Regions from separate parts of the Homo sapiens genome. Here regions 2 and 3 are each linked to region 1. Evidence: promoter capture Hi-C in 16 types of primary human blood cells and fetal thymus (Javierre and others, 2016). All regions are on one chromosome and are shown on one strand. The core of a region is centred on a gene start or on the middle of the fragment in contact, and the rest is flanking DNA. Distances in the headings are between cores, read along the strand shown. Region 1 holds the start of GPRC5A (G protein-coupled receptor class C group 5 member A). Region 2 has its middle 41 kb from the start of EMP1. Region 3 overlaps EMP1 (epithelial membrane protein 1).

Evidence for each region. The method cuts DNA at HindIII sites, captures the fragments that hold promoters and counts their contacts. A CHiCAGO score of 5 or more calls a contact.
Region 2: a contact is called between a fragment that was not itself captured here and the fragment with the promoter of GPRC5A in region 1, in 1 of 17 cell types (M2 macrophages). The highest score is 6.2, in M2 macrophages.
Region 3: a fragment that was not itself captured here is called in contact with the fragment with the promoter of GPRC5A in region 1 in 5 of 17 cell types (total B cells, naive B cells, activated CD4 T cells and 2 more); the score reaches 7.2 in total B cells.

The regions. Positions count from the first base shown.
Region 1 is chr12:12,889,673-12,894,325 of GRCh38, forward strand. It overlaps GPRC5A (G protein-coupled receptor class C group 5 member A), which reads left to right and starts at 1,890. Exons shown (of 4, transcript NM_003979.4): 1 at 1,890-1,992. The HindIII fragment of the contact is 15,074 bases long and covers 1-4,653 here.
Region 2 is chr12:13,235,339-13,239,991 of GRCh38, forward strand. No RefSeq gene overlaps it. Among named protein-coding and RNA genes, the nearest start is that of EMP1, 41 kb to the left of the region's middle. The HindIII fragment of the contact is 2,149 bases long and covers 1,148-3,296 here.
Region 3 is chr12:13,213,873-13,218,525 of GRCh38, forward strand. It overlaps EMP1 (epithelial membrane protein 1), which reads left to right. Exons shown (of 5, transcript NM_001423.3): 5 at 662-4,653. The coding sequence ends at 819. Among named protein-coding and RNA genes, the nearest start is that of EMP1, 19 kb to the left of the region's middle. The HindIII fragment of the contact is 5,370 bases long and covers 1-4,091 here.

The DNA.
Region 1 (4,653 bases), core at 640-3,139:
GGCTCCCACCTGTAATCCTAGCACTTTGGAAGGCCAAGGCTGGAGGATGGCATGAACCCAGGAGTTTGAGACCAGCATGTGCAACACAGCGAGACCTTGTCTCTATAAATAATAAAAAGAATTACTTGGGAGGCTGAGGCGGGAAGACTGCTTGAGCCTGGGAGGTAAAGGCTTACAGTGAGCCATGATGGTATCACTGCACCCCAGCCTGGGTGACAAAGTGAGAGTGTCTCAAACAAGAAACAAACAAAAAAATTAGCCAGGTGTGGTAATGCACACATGTGGTCCTGGGTGCTTGGGAGGCTGAGGTGGAAGGATAGCTTGAGCCTGGGTGATTGAGGCTGCAGTGAGCCGATTGTGCCATTGTACTCCAGCCTGGGTGACGGCGAGACCTTGTCTAAAAAAGAAAAAACACACAAAAAATAAAAAACAAATGTGGCTTATGTTTGTGGCTTGAATTATAGTTCTATTGTACAATGGTAGTCTAGTTCAACTTCTTGAACAGACGAGAACGCTGGGGTCCGGAGAGAAGCCCTGACTTAGCGGATGGCACACACTATAAAGCACTGTCATTTGCAGTCCCACCAGTCTCTCAGTACCCACCCCCACTCTGCCACACACACCCCTGGGAGTCTTAGGTGTGAAATGGGTGGACTCACAGACCCCTGGGCTGCATACCTCAAAGTGTTCCAACACTCAAGGCACTGCCTGTGGTTTTTTGGGAGTGAAATAAAAACCTAACAATGGTGGGGTCACAGTCTCCAGTAGGTCACATTTTAAAAGCACTTTAGGCTCTGGAGACTTGGGGTGTGGGGAGAAGTGAAGAGAAAGCTGGGGAGCCCTGGGCCTTCCCCCATTTCTTCATATGCAGAATAATCCAGATTAGTTTACCAAGCGCGCTGATAACCACTTTAAAAACAGAGTCCCTCCTGCCTCCCCGTGGCATGGGGTAGAACCTGGCTTGAGCCCCGACACAGGCGGGCAGCCACTCCAGGATCGTTCCACACGTAAACAAAGACGAGTTTCGGTCCGATTGGCTTGATCCTGGAAGAGGAGTGGGCAGTGGAGGGAGGGGAAACCAGGCACCAAAGCAAATTCCTTCATTTCATAATTTCATCTGGCGCCCCCGTTCAATCAGCCTGCATTGTCGAGGCTTTAGGAGAGGCAGTTAGGAAAGGAGAGATACTGATCTCTCAGCCCCAGGGCAGCACTAATGGTGCCTGTCTAGACTCTGACAGGTGGAGCTGCTGAGCTAACTACGGACCTGGTGGGGGAAGTTTTCCTTGGCTTTCACGTGGCTTTGGCTGGGGAGCCCTGAGAAGGTGGCTGCCTCCTTTTTCTGAAGCCTGGCTTCCCATACGGCAGTGGCTGGGGGAGAGTGATGGAGAGAAAGGCTAAGCTAAGGTCAAAGAAAGTGGAGGAAGGCTGGCTTGTCCCGCTGGACTTGACGGCGGAGCTGCTGCAATCTCGCGGGCTGGGCCCTTGCCCCGGGTGGACCCGAGTGCCTGCGGGGAGGCGGGTGTGGCTCCCCCGGGAGGTGACAGCTGGCGGGGCCCGTAAGGAGCTGGTCTGCTCCGGCTCCCCTCTCGTAGCCGGCGCCCTGGGACCAGCGCGTGAGCACGTCTCGGAGGAGTCCGATGCGCTGGGCAGGGCCGGGTGGTCACCCCCGCCCAGCTTCCAGGGGTGACTGTGCCTCTGACGTCAGACGGTTTTTGGGTCATTCCCTGGCACGGGGACTTTATTTTCATAACAGCATGAAGTGCCGTGGAACTGGAATAGGCGTGTCCTCTCCCTCGACCCTCCCCCTCCTTGTCCCTCTGCTCACCCCTCGCTCGTTCCCTCCCTCCGGCGAGGGCCGCCTTTATAACAACTGCTCAGAGTGCGAGGGCGGGATAGCTGTCCAAGGTCTCCCCCAGCACTGAGGAGCTCGCCTGCTGCCCTCTTGCGCGCGGGAAGCAGCACCAAGTTCACGGCCAACGCCTTGGCACTAGGGTAAGTGAGGCGCCAGGAGCCCAGAGCGCTGGGGCCTCCGGATTTAAATCGTCTGGGGAGAGCGGGGCGTTGGGAGGGGTGGGATAGAAGAGGAGAGAAATCCTGGTAATGGAATACAGTTGGCTATGAGAAAAAAATTCCCTAGGAAACAGTTCCTCTAGTTTAACAACTCAGATTTTTTTTTTTTTTTTTCCCCTTTGCGGGTTTCCTAGGCTAAGATAGAGGCAGAGAGCAAAGAGATAATCAGGGTAATAGTTTCTGCTCGGACACATTCTACAAACTTTGAGTAGATGGAATCCGGCCAGGCAGGAGGTGAGCAGCTCTGGGATCACTCTGCAGGAAAAGAATAGAGGGAGAAAGATCTCAGAGGACCCGAAGGTACTGGGAGTGGAGGGGGAGTGGGAAACAAGGGGCAGGGGCAGGAGGGAGGACACGGTGACAGCTACTATTTTACCCAGATGCTGCAAAAAGCCCTTCTGAGTTTTGGGAATTAGATCTAGAAGCCCATCCCTTTTCTCTTGATGTGTGGGCGGTCAGTTCCACTCTGGTGTGCCTTGAGTTGCTCAGAAACCTGGGACAGATGAAAGTTGAATGTGCGCTGAGAGTGCACCTTCCACTACCGACTTTATGGATAGGATTTGGGAATAGCATAGATGCTGTTCCATCTGGTCCCTTAAACATCCATGGGGAAGGCTGGCAAATAGCTTTATTTTATTTTTTGAGATGGAGTTTCACTCTTGTTGCCCAGGCTGGAGTACAATGTTGCGATCTCAGCTCACCGCGACCTCCACCTCCCGGGTTCAAGCGATTCTCCTGCCTCAGACTCCCGAGTAGCTGGGATTACAGGCATGCACCACCACTCCTGGTTAATTTTGTATTTTTAGTAGAGACGGGGTTTCCCCATGTTGGTCAGGTTGGTCTCAAACTCCCGACCTAAGGTGATCTGCCCGCCTCAGCCTCCCAAAGTGCTGGGATTACAGGTGTGAGCCCCCGCGCCCGGCCACAGATAGCTTTAAACATCCATGGGAAAGGCTAGCTAACAGCTGAAACCTGCTCAGAATCAAGGAATTTGAAGGACTTTCCATTCCTGACTTCTTTCCATTCCTGATTGTCTCCTCAGAGGCTTGTGTAAACACCACACCTGTTGAAGGGTTCGGCCGAATCAGCCACTGCTGTGGGTTCATTCCTGAAGGGGAACACTTCAGCTACTTCAGACACAATGGGCTAGGGACCACGGGAGGGGTGAGGGCGGAGGGGGCACACACCCTCCAGGTTTGCATGCCGGTGTCTGCTAGGTGAGGGAAGGAATGAGGGGAAGGAAGGGCCGGGAGAGGCGCTACGTGGGAAACAAGGGACCTCTCCAAGGGCGTGGAGAGGTGAGTGCCTCAAGGGCAGAATGGAATGAGCAGAACCCTTTGGTTTCCCGGGAAGAGCTCTCAACCTTGAGTCAGGAAGACTGATTTCTCCTCCCAGCTCCGCAGGAACATGGAACTGTGATCAGGCAAGGGGCTGGGCCTGAGTTCCTCATAGGGGTCTTGGGGAGGCCCCCAGTTTCCCCTCCTGTGTTTCGATTCTGGCCCCTCTCCATCTGCACACGTCGCCTTGGAAGTTCCCTTTAGAACTGGCTTTTTTGTATTCTAGTCTTGAATGGTAATCGAAGACAACAGGGTATGAAGAACAATTTTGACGGCGTGATTTTATTCTTCTCATTCTGGGTCCACTACTATTTAAAGTCCCAAGATTAAGCTGAGGAATTAATATGGTGGTATAGTAAACAATAAATTGAGGAGTATTTTTGCTTGAGGAATCTTTGACTTCCTGAGTAGTTCAGGGTGTTTGCTTCTTTTATTCTCATTTTTATTGCACTGTGGTCAGACTATATGGTCTGCACATTTCTTATTTTCTAATTCCAGATTTGTCTTTGTATTCTAAATATGCTCATTTTTGGCAAATGTTCCATTTGGACCATGGACCATAGTTCCTATTAAGCAATCATAATAGAGTAGAGATGGCAAACTATGGTCCATGGACCAAATATGGCCTATAGCCTCTTTCTGTAAATAAAGTGATTTTTGTTTTGTTTTGTTTTGTTTTTGTTTTCGTTTTTTTGAGATGGAGTCTCGCTCTTGCCCAGGCTGGAGCGCAGTGACGTGATCTCGGCTCACTGAAACCTCTGCCTCCCGGTTTCAAGGTTTCAAGCCATTCTCCTGCCTCAGGCTCCCAAGTAGCTGGGATTACAGGCGCCCGCTACCACGCCTGGGTAATTTTTGTATTTTTAGTAGAGACAGGGTTTCACCATGTTGGCCAGACTGGTCTCAAACTCCTGACCTCAGGTGATCTGCCTGCCTCGGCCTCCCAAAGTGCTGGGATCATAGGCATGAGCCACAACCTGTAATCCACTATTTTACTAAAACACAGCAATGCTCATATGTTTATGTATCATCTATGCTGCTTTCATGCTACAAATGTGTGGCTTGCAGAGTCTTAAATTGCTTATAACCTGGCCCTTTATAGAAAATCTATGCTGATCACTGATATAGAGGATCTGAATTATATGATTAGTAATGGAGATCTAATAAGATATGAAGATAGAGAATATTTCTATTTAAGTATCCATAGAACATTTACACAATTTTACCATGTTCTTATTCATATTGTATA
Region 2 (4,653 bases), core at 972-3,471, 350 kb after region 1:
GAAGATCTTAGAATAATGGTTTATGTACTTTGACATGCCAAGATAAAAGGCAAAGTGTAAAAGTTAATACTGGAATATTAACTAACATGTGTTTGGGAAATTGTATTCCTGCAACACTATTTCTTTTTTGAAATTTAGTTGCATTTCATATTTCTTTGGTTTGTATCCCAAGATAACTGTGGGTTACTAGTAGCTGAGATGAATGGAGCTTATGCAACTATACAATCTTTCAATGGATTTTGAGACAAAGCATTTAGTATTCTGTAGTGAACACAATAGTCCTAGAGATTCAGAAACCAGATACATAAATTCATCTTTTTTTCTGAGTCACTTTGTTGTGTCTCTTAGTGATCTTTTGACTCAGTTTTTTCACCTGAAATTTGGAAATATTATTTGATTTCCGATATTTCCAATAAGTTAAATGTTCAGTGAACACTAATTGAGTCATACCCATAGAGCTGAAGGTTTTCCAGAAAAATGCCTCAGAAGAAGTTAAATTTGAAGTTGCATATTTGTGGCCTGTTTTTCTGTTTCATACACCTACACCCCAAGACCAGCATTATAGGGTGCACATCTTCTGTTACTCTTCTTGGCTATTGGGGAGATTACTTGCCTGGCTCAGAGAGGAAACCTTTCTATGTTCTTTGATAGATTTTATACATTAGAGCCCCTTCTTGCTCAGAAGATAGCAGCAGGTGGCTAAGCTTGGAATATCTACTGTCAATTCCATGTAGAGAGCTACATCAGACCAGGTCCCAACAACCCAACCTTCATCAGAGACCCAACCTCCATCAGAGACCCAACCTCCGTCAGAGATCCTACCACCATAGAGACTGGTAGGAGTTTCATGGTAGGCGTTAAGCATGAGCCTGTCTCTGGGTCTGTGTCTCTATTTCTGGGTGAAGGAATATATATATATATATTCTCTTGGGCACATCCTACTTAAAAAAAGGAGATTAACCATATTACATCCCTGACTTGCACCATGTGGCTTAATAAGCAAGACATGTCATAAAGTTAACAGTTAGTTCTATGGCTTATAGCAGTGTAAACTAAATACCTGAGTGTAGTTTCTAGAGTAATTAGAGTCTGGTGGGATTGGGACAGGTTTCCACATTCCCTAGGGTTTCTGAATAATCCTAGGCCAAGCTTGGATCTTAAGTACTTTCTTTACTTTTTTTTTTTTTTGAGACAGCAGCTCACTCTGTCACCCAGGCTGGAATTCAGTGACACCATCACGGCTCACTGCAGCCTTGACCTTCTTGGCTCTATCGATCCTCCCACCTCAGCCTCCCGGGTAGCTGGGACTACCGGTGTACACCATCATGCCCAGCTAATTTGTTGTATTTTTTGTAGAGATGGGTTTTGCCATGTTGCTCAGGCTTGTCTTGAACTCCTGGGCTCAAGCAATCCACCTGCCTAGGCCTCCCAGAGTGCTGGGATTACATGTGTGAGCCACTGTGCCTGGCCTGATCTTAGGTATTTTGAAGACCAATTAACTGGGGTTTCTTCTTGACTGTCCAGGGATACTTTTTGTTTACTACTGATCTGTCAGAGACCTTGAAAATCATCCCTGGCCAAGGCTCAGAGGTTTCTTAAGGGGCCAGCTAGAGCTTGGCATTATCAAGGCTTGCCATGAAGAGAAAATGCCCCCAAGACCCACCCAGGGTCAGATCTTTCATGCTCATGTGAACTTGTAGAATAATTATTCCAAAGTCCCAGCCACTACCCAGAAAGCAGTATATAGTTAATACGTTCCTGGCAAATATAAGTCCCTCTGCATGGCTCTGCAATTTAGACTACCACTCATGAGAATAACACCAAGGCCTAGACCAACAGCATTGTGTATGTACCCTGGAAAATACTTCAGATCTCATTGATTCATCTCCCAACCAGATCAAGTATGTGAGATAAACAGCCAGTTCCATGGGATATGGTTGCTTTGTTTTATTTGAGATTGTGTTTCAAACACACCACCTACCAGTACTACTACCAGTGCTGGAATATTTGGGGTACCCATTCCTAGGCTATATGTGAGCCAAGTTCAACAGATTGTATGATTCCCCACCAAGTTCAGAGGAAGGGTTGCCCACCAGGTACTCGCCGGTCTGAGCTAAGCAACTGCAGAATGAGGGAAACACACTTAACAGATGAGGCTGTGAATGCCGGTGCTGATGTCCTCTGTTCTAAGAGCAAATGATGTCTTCCATAATATGGATGCAGTCATGGCCAAATGTATATTCAGCAGTATGTTCCTCCCATCGCTGCTCTGGGGAGATAACGGATAATGCTATTCCTCCAGTAGTGTGAAGTGAGAGGGGGTCAAGAAAACATTTTCAGTTTAGAGCAACGGGGCGTGAGATGCATCCAATCTTATGCAATCCTAAGTCCCTGGGCACGAATGGAATTTGTAACCAGCAAAGAAATTCTTTATAATAATTTAATTTGTATGTGAGATTGAGCTTGTGAGAGTGAGTGACAGAGAGGTAGAGGGGAAAAGACAGAGGGAATGAGAGGGGAGAAAGACAATGAAAAAGATGAATGAGAATGAATAATGGGAGGCAAAGATAAAGGAAAAGCAATATAAAGCAGAGAGGGGAGAGAAAAGAAGTAATAACTTCTGATAATTGCGGAAATATATCACAAACATAATTGTATAAAAGGAGGGATTTAGATAGTGAACAGGAAAGTTGAGAGCATGGCTGAAGGTAGAAGAAAGAAGGAAGAAATGAATAACAGGAAAACAAAGAGAGAAAAAAAAGGAAAACATTTCAAGGAATAGGTAGGAAACAAGATGTGCCTTGGGAATTTCAATGAATTATTTTGTCTCCCAAGTTTTAAACTTACAATGTGTTCTGCCATGACGGTCTAATTCTCAATTAAGATATGCTAATAAGGCTGACCGCATACCATATACTCGCCATGCCTGATAAGCAGTTTAGCTTCTTTTTGGGTTTGGTGGGAGAGCAGTTATGTTTCCACACTGAAGTTTCTCATTGGCTTTCCTCCTACAAAGGCGCAAAATGACCACATGTTGTTCTTACTAATATTTGTTTTAGTCTGACACACTTCGATCTCTGCCGAGTTGACTACTAACTGCTTCGTACACACTTCGTATTCCTCCACCTGCTTTCAGTTACCTTCATTAAAAATATTCACATAAATCTTTATTAATAGAGAAAAATGGATTCACTCTGGTTTATTTATCTGTGGGTAAGTTTAATTATTTTCCAGTATGCAAAGCATCTTAGGAGGCTGCAAACATGGCTCAGAAGTAACATTGCCAGAAAAGGGGAAGCTTGTGCCATAGAGTCAACTTGCTGACCTGCAAGTAACAGACAGTGAATGTTAGCTGAATGATGGTAATTGAGTGAAAATTTGGACTGCCCTTCAAGGGATGTTAGAAAGAGTATCAGAAAAGGGCAGGAAGACTTAACATATATAGTGACCAATTACTGAGCATCCAAGCATAGTGAAAATCACCGTGCATATATTATCACATTTCACAGAAGCAGAACCCATTCTTTTTCATATGCAAATTTCTCCTTAAAAATCTCTGTCCTATGATACTGTGGGAACTCTAGGCTACTTCTCGATGGCTTCTAGGCATCCCCAGGAAGTGCGTATATTCTCCTGAAATCATTGCCAAGGGCTTACTGCAGATTATCCCAGGTTTCTCCTGCTGGGCTCACCTTGCCTCTCCACAGTGCACCACAATTTCTGGTCCGCTCCATCTTAAGATGTCATTGTAGATCTTCCCTTTATTTCCAAAGCCAATGCAATCACAAAGATATGGAGAGTAGCAATGGTTAAGATTATAAGCTTTGCAGTCAAACTTCTTGAGTTCAAATCCAGGCTCTGAATCTTACTAGTTGTATGACCTTAAGTTACTTGTATGACCTCCTGTACCTCAGTTTTTTACTCAGTTTTTTTACCTCAGTGAAATGAGGCTGATAATAATACTTTTTTCCCTGGGTTGCCATGAAGATTAAATAAGTTAACTCATTCTGCGAGTTAATTTTTATGTGAGATTGAGCCCGTGAGAATGAGTGACAGAGAGGTAGAGGGAAAAAAATGGAGGGAGTGAGAGAGGAGAAAGTGGGAAAGACAATGGAAAAGATAAATGAGAATGAATAATGGGAGGTAGAGATAAAGGAAAAGCAATAGAAAGCAGAGAAGTTAATTCATTAAAATACATAGAGCACTTTGAAGAATGCTTGCTATGTTGTAAGTACTTAATAAAGTTCGTTATTAGTGACAGGTTGTAAGGGTTAGGAAATTTTTTACTGAACACATGCATTTCTTAGGTTATAAAAAAGTATAGCTTTGAGGAGAAACAATGTGAAATTGGAAAACAGATTCTGCTGCTGCTAGAATCCATTGGCCAGTCCCTAATGCAGTCTCCCAGGGTTGTCTCCCTCCTTAGTCTCTGCCATCTTGCTGGAGCCATACTCTTCCATAGTCCATGCATTCTTGTCTCCCATTATTCCCCACGTCTTGAATCACAACTCCTAGAGTCTCAAGGAAGCCAAAAACAAGTAAATAGCATGACAGTCTCTGCCCCCAAGGCCTACAACTCTTTCATTTTGCTGTTTAGAAGTCAGAGGTCTTTATGGTATTAATCCCTCCCCCTAGATTGGACACTGAGTCTTA
Region 3 (4,653 bases), core at 157-2,656, 320 kb after region 1:
ATGGGTGTTTCTGGCAACTTGAACAGATTAGCACATGGTTCAGTGAAACTTCCTTGTGCAATTTTCTCCTCTGGTTATTTGTTCTCTTGTGGAGAACCTTGGATTGCTGCTTAGGTTAAGAACCCTCATCTGCTTCATTGTTCAAAACCAGTGCTCCTGGGTAGCTACCAAGTGGCAGTGCATATCTGTTAGTAGCACGTGTGTACAAGACACTTCAAGAAGGCAGAAAGGTAGGAGTTCTCAGAAAGATGAAACCACTGCCACAATGCACATCATTATTGTGATTCTCACTTAATTGTTGTTCTTTCCCAATATACTCGGTTTGGTGGAAGGACATGCTCTTTTGCATCCCTGAGTAGCTTTCCTAGACCCACAAGGGCCAGACAGGACAGCTGGGTGGTAGGCATGAGGTTCTGTGTTTTACATCACAGCGTGGCCACACAAACCAGTGCAGACATGAGAGCCCAGACACCTCTAATTTATCAACATACCGTCGAGCTTGGCCCAGGGGACATCCATCAGAACTCCTGTTTAGGGACAAACAAGCAGAATTCATTTTCCTATTGCTAATGAGGGAAATAGGATCTTCTTAAAATTAGTAAAACTTTTTCTCGACTTTAATGTAAGAAAACACACCGACAAATCTCCTTTTCCCCTGCAGGGCTGTGCATTCTTGTGGGGGTGTCCATCTACACTAGTCATTATGCGAATCGTGATGGAACGCAGTATCACCACGGCTATTCCTACATCCTGGGCTGGATCTGCTTCTGCTTCAGCTTCATCATCGGCGTTCTCTATCTGGTCCTGAGAAAGAAATAAGGCCGGACGAGTTCATGGGGATCTGGGGGGTGGGGAGGAGGAAGCCGTTGAATCTGGGAGGGAAGTGGAGGTTGCTGTACAGGAAAAACCGAGATAGGGGAGGGGGGAGGGGGAAGCAAAGGGGGGAGGTCAAATCCCAAACCATTACTGAGGGGATTCTCTACTGCCAAGCCCCTGCCCTGGGGAGAAAGTAGTTGGCTAGTACTTTGATGCTCCCTTGATGGGGTCCAGAGAGCCTCCCTGCAGCCACCAGACTTGGCCTCCAGCTGTTCTTAGTGACACACACTGTCTGGGGCCCCATCAGCTGCCACAACACCAGCCCCACTTCTGGGTCATGCACTGAGGTCCACAGACCTACTGCACTGAGTTAAAATAGCGGTACAAGTTCTGGCAAGAGCAGATACTGTCTTTGTGCTGAATACGCTAAGCCTGGAAGCCATCCTGCCCTTCTGACCCAAAGCAAAACATCACATTCCAGTCTGAAGTGCCTACTGGGGGGCTTTGGCCTGTGAGCCATTGTCCCTCTTTGGAACAGATATTTAGCTCTGTGGAATTCAGTGACAAAATGGGAGGAGGAAAGAGAGTTTGTAAGGTCATGCTGGTGGGTTAGCTAAACCAAGAAGGAGACCTTTTCACAATGGAAAACCTGGGGGATGGTCAGAGCCCAGTCGAGACCTCACACACGGCTGTCCCTCATGGAGACCTCATGCCATGGTCTTTGCTAGGCCTCTTGCTGAAAGCCAAGGCAGCTCTTCTGGAGTTTCTCTAAAGTCACTAGTGAACAATTCGGTGGTAAAAGTACCACACAAACTATGGGATCCAAGGGGCAGTCTTGCAACAGTGCCATGTTAGGGTTATGTTTTTAGGATTCCCCTCAATGCAGTCAGTGTTTCTTTTAAGTATACAACAGGAGAGAGATGGACATGGCTCATTGTAGCACAATCCTATTACTCTTCCTCTAACATTTTTGAGGAAGTTTTGTCTAATTATCAATATTGAGGATCAGGGCTCCTAGGCTCAGTGGTAGCTCTGGCTTAGACACCACCTGGAGTGATCACCTCTTGGGGACCCTGCCTATCCCACTTCACAGGTGAGGCATGGCAATTCTGGAAGCTGATTAAAACACACATAAACCAAAACCAAACAACAGGCCCTTGGGTGAAAGGTGCTATATAATTGTGAAGTATTAAGCCTACCGTATTTCAGCCATGATAAGAACAGAGTGCCTGCATTCCCAGGAAAATACGAAAATCCCATGAGATAAATAAAAATATAGGTGATGGGCAGATCTTTTCTTTAAAATAAAAAAGCAAAAACTCTTGTGGTACCTAGTCAGATGGTAGACGAGCTGTCTGCTGCCGCAGGAGCACCTCTATACAGGACTTAGAAGTAGTATGTTATTCCTGGTTAAGCAGGCATTGCTTTGCCCTGGAGCAGCTATTTTAAGCCATCTCAGATTCTGTCTAAAGGGGTTTTTTGGGAAGACGTTTTCTTTATCGCCCTGAGAAGATCTACCCCAGGGAGAATCTGAGACATCTTGCCTACTTTTCTTTATTAGCTTTCTCCTCATCCATTTCTTTTATACCTTTCCTTTTTGGGGAGTTGTTATGCCATGATTTTTGGTATTTATGTAAAAGGATTATTACTAATTCTATTTCTCTATGTTTATTCTAGTTAAGGAAATGTTGAGGGCAAGCCACCAAATTACCTAGGCTGAGGTTAGAGAGATTGGCCAGCAAAAACTGTGGGAAGATGAACTTTGTCATTATGATTTCATTATCACATGATTATAGAAGGCTGTCTTAGTGCAAAAAACATACTTACATTTCAGACATATCCAAAGGGAATACTCACATTTTGTTAAGAAGTTGAACTATGACTGGAGTAAACCATGTATTCCCTTATCTTTTACTTTTTTTCTGTGACATTTATGTCTCATGTAATTTGCATTACTCTGGTGGATTGTTCTAGTACTGTATTGGGCTTCTTCGTTAATAGATTATTTCATATACTATAATTGTAAATATTTTGATACAAATGTTTATAACTCTAGGGATATAAAAACAGATTCTGATTCCCTTCATTGTGTGAATGTTTTTTTCTAAAAAAAATGTGGAGAAATATGGATAATTATGACATTTATCCCTCATTAAGCTGCCTATCAGTTTGATTTGGACAACTTGACATTTATTTGAGACATTAAGCTACTTTCTGGTAATATATTAGGCATTTCTGCAATAGCTCTTTCAGGTAACTGAATATTATTAAGCATAGTTTTATCTTGCTTTGATTAAACCTCTTAGGCAAAAAATGGAACTTCATAAGCTAATACATTAGAAAGGGGTTATGATTATAAATCAGAAATGCTTGTGACATTAAGAAATGAGGCACTTGTGAAATTTCTTTGAAATAGCCAGCTCCTCTAATGTGTCTTCAAAATATAAAGTGATTCACAAAGGCATGCATCACACCTATTTGTAGCAGCCCATTCATTACATAAACCAGGGCATACCTGTGTGGGCTCTGTGAGTGAAGGGAGGCTTCACTACTTTCTGTGAGCAGTAAGGACTGGTATCTTTCTGTGAGCAATAAGGACTGGATAAAGACTGCATATCCTTGTGTCGTGTCAGCACCAATACAATAAGGAGGGTTTTAATGTGAAGCAGGCAATCTTCCAGCCCCTTCTGGTCTTGGATGAAATAGTTGCACAGAGTATTGCACCAAAAATACACAATGGAGGCTGAAAAGTTCAACATATTTTAAGTCAATTAATCAAATTGCATTGATTCTTGATGCTTTCTTAGAGGCCTACATGATTTCTTAGATTGCTCTGATAAACTATCATAAGGGGTCCACCTCCCCTCATTTAGCTCCCCCAGGGATTTCTTTTCCCCCATGTCATACACCCAGTCCTAAATCAACCCCCAAGGCTATCCTTCCATCCCTTCTGCAGAGGGAACTTTTGTCAGACTCTGCAACAAACTCCTAGCTCTATCCAGAGTGTCCTCTGCTGCTAAGATTGGTATCTTTCTCCTCAAAAGCCTGGATGGTGAATGGGGGTGCATTAGTCAGAATTCTCCAGAGAAACAGAAAAAATAAGATTCGCGTGTGTGTGCAAACATATATATAAATAAATAAAAATATATTTATTTTAAGGAATTGACTCACATGATTTTGAAGGCAGGCAAGCCCAAAGTCTGCAAGGGGTGGGCCAGCAGAGAGCTGGTGCTACAGTGCGGGTCTGAAAGTTGCCAGAGTCCCTTTTATAGAGAAGCTTAAAAAATATTTGTTGAATTAAATGTCTTAGGTAGAGACAAATTGAATTAAAGTGGTTAAGTAAATACTCTTAGGTGAAATTTGTGCAAATTATGAGTATAAAGAGGGTGAGCTACAGAACTCTCCATGACCACTCAAGAATGGGACCCAAAGGCAAATGATAACTTATTCATTCATCAAGGGATAAACTTGAGTTATCAAATGGTTAATAGATAAAGATCCCACTCTGCCTTGGATTTAGCCATCGCAGTCCCTGTGTAAAACCCCACCGGCTTTCAGGCATGGAAAAAAATTTCACAAAGGCCTTGAAAGAAGGCATATGAAGACCAAAAGGATATTGAGCAGGGTTCCATACTTGAATAAAGGAAGAAACTCCCTTCAATGTTTACTAAGAAATAGTTAGAATATAGCATATCCTGTATAGATGAAATGTCCTAGCGAAAATGTTTAAATGTATTTAAAGAAGAGCTAGATTTTGTGGGGGGAGAGAAGGGAATAGGATAGGCTGGTGGGAGGAAGAATGAAAAGAAGAAAACTTGTTGGAAATTTTGGAGTAGA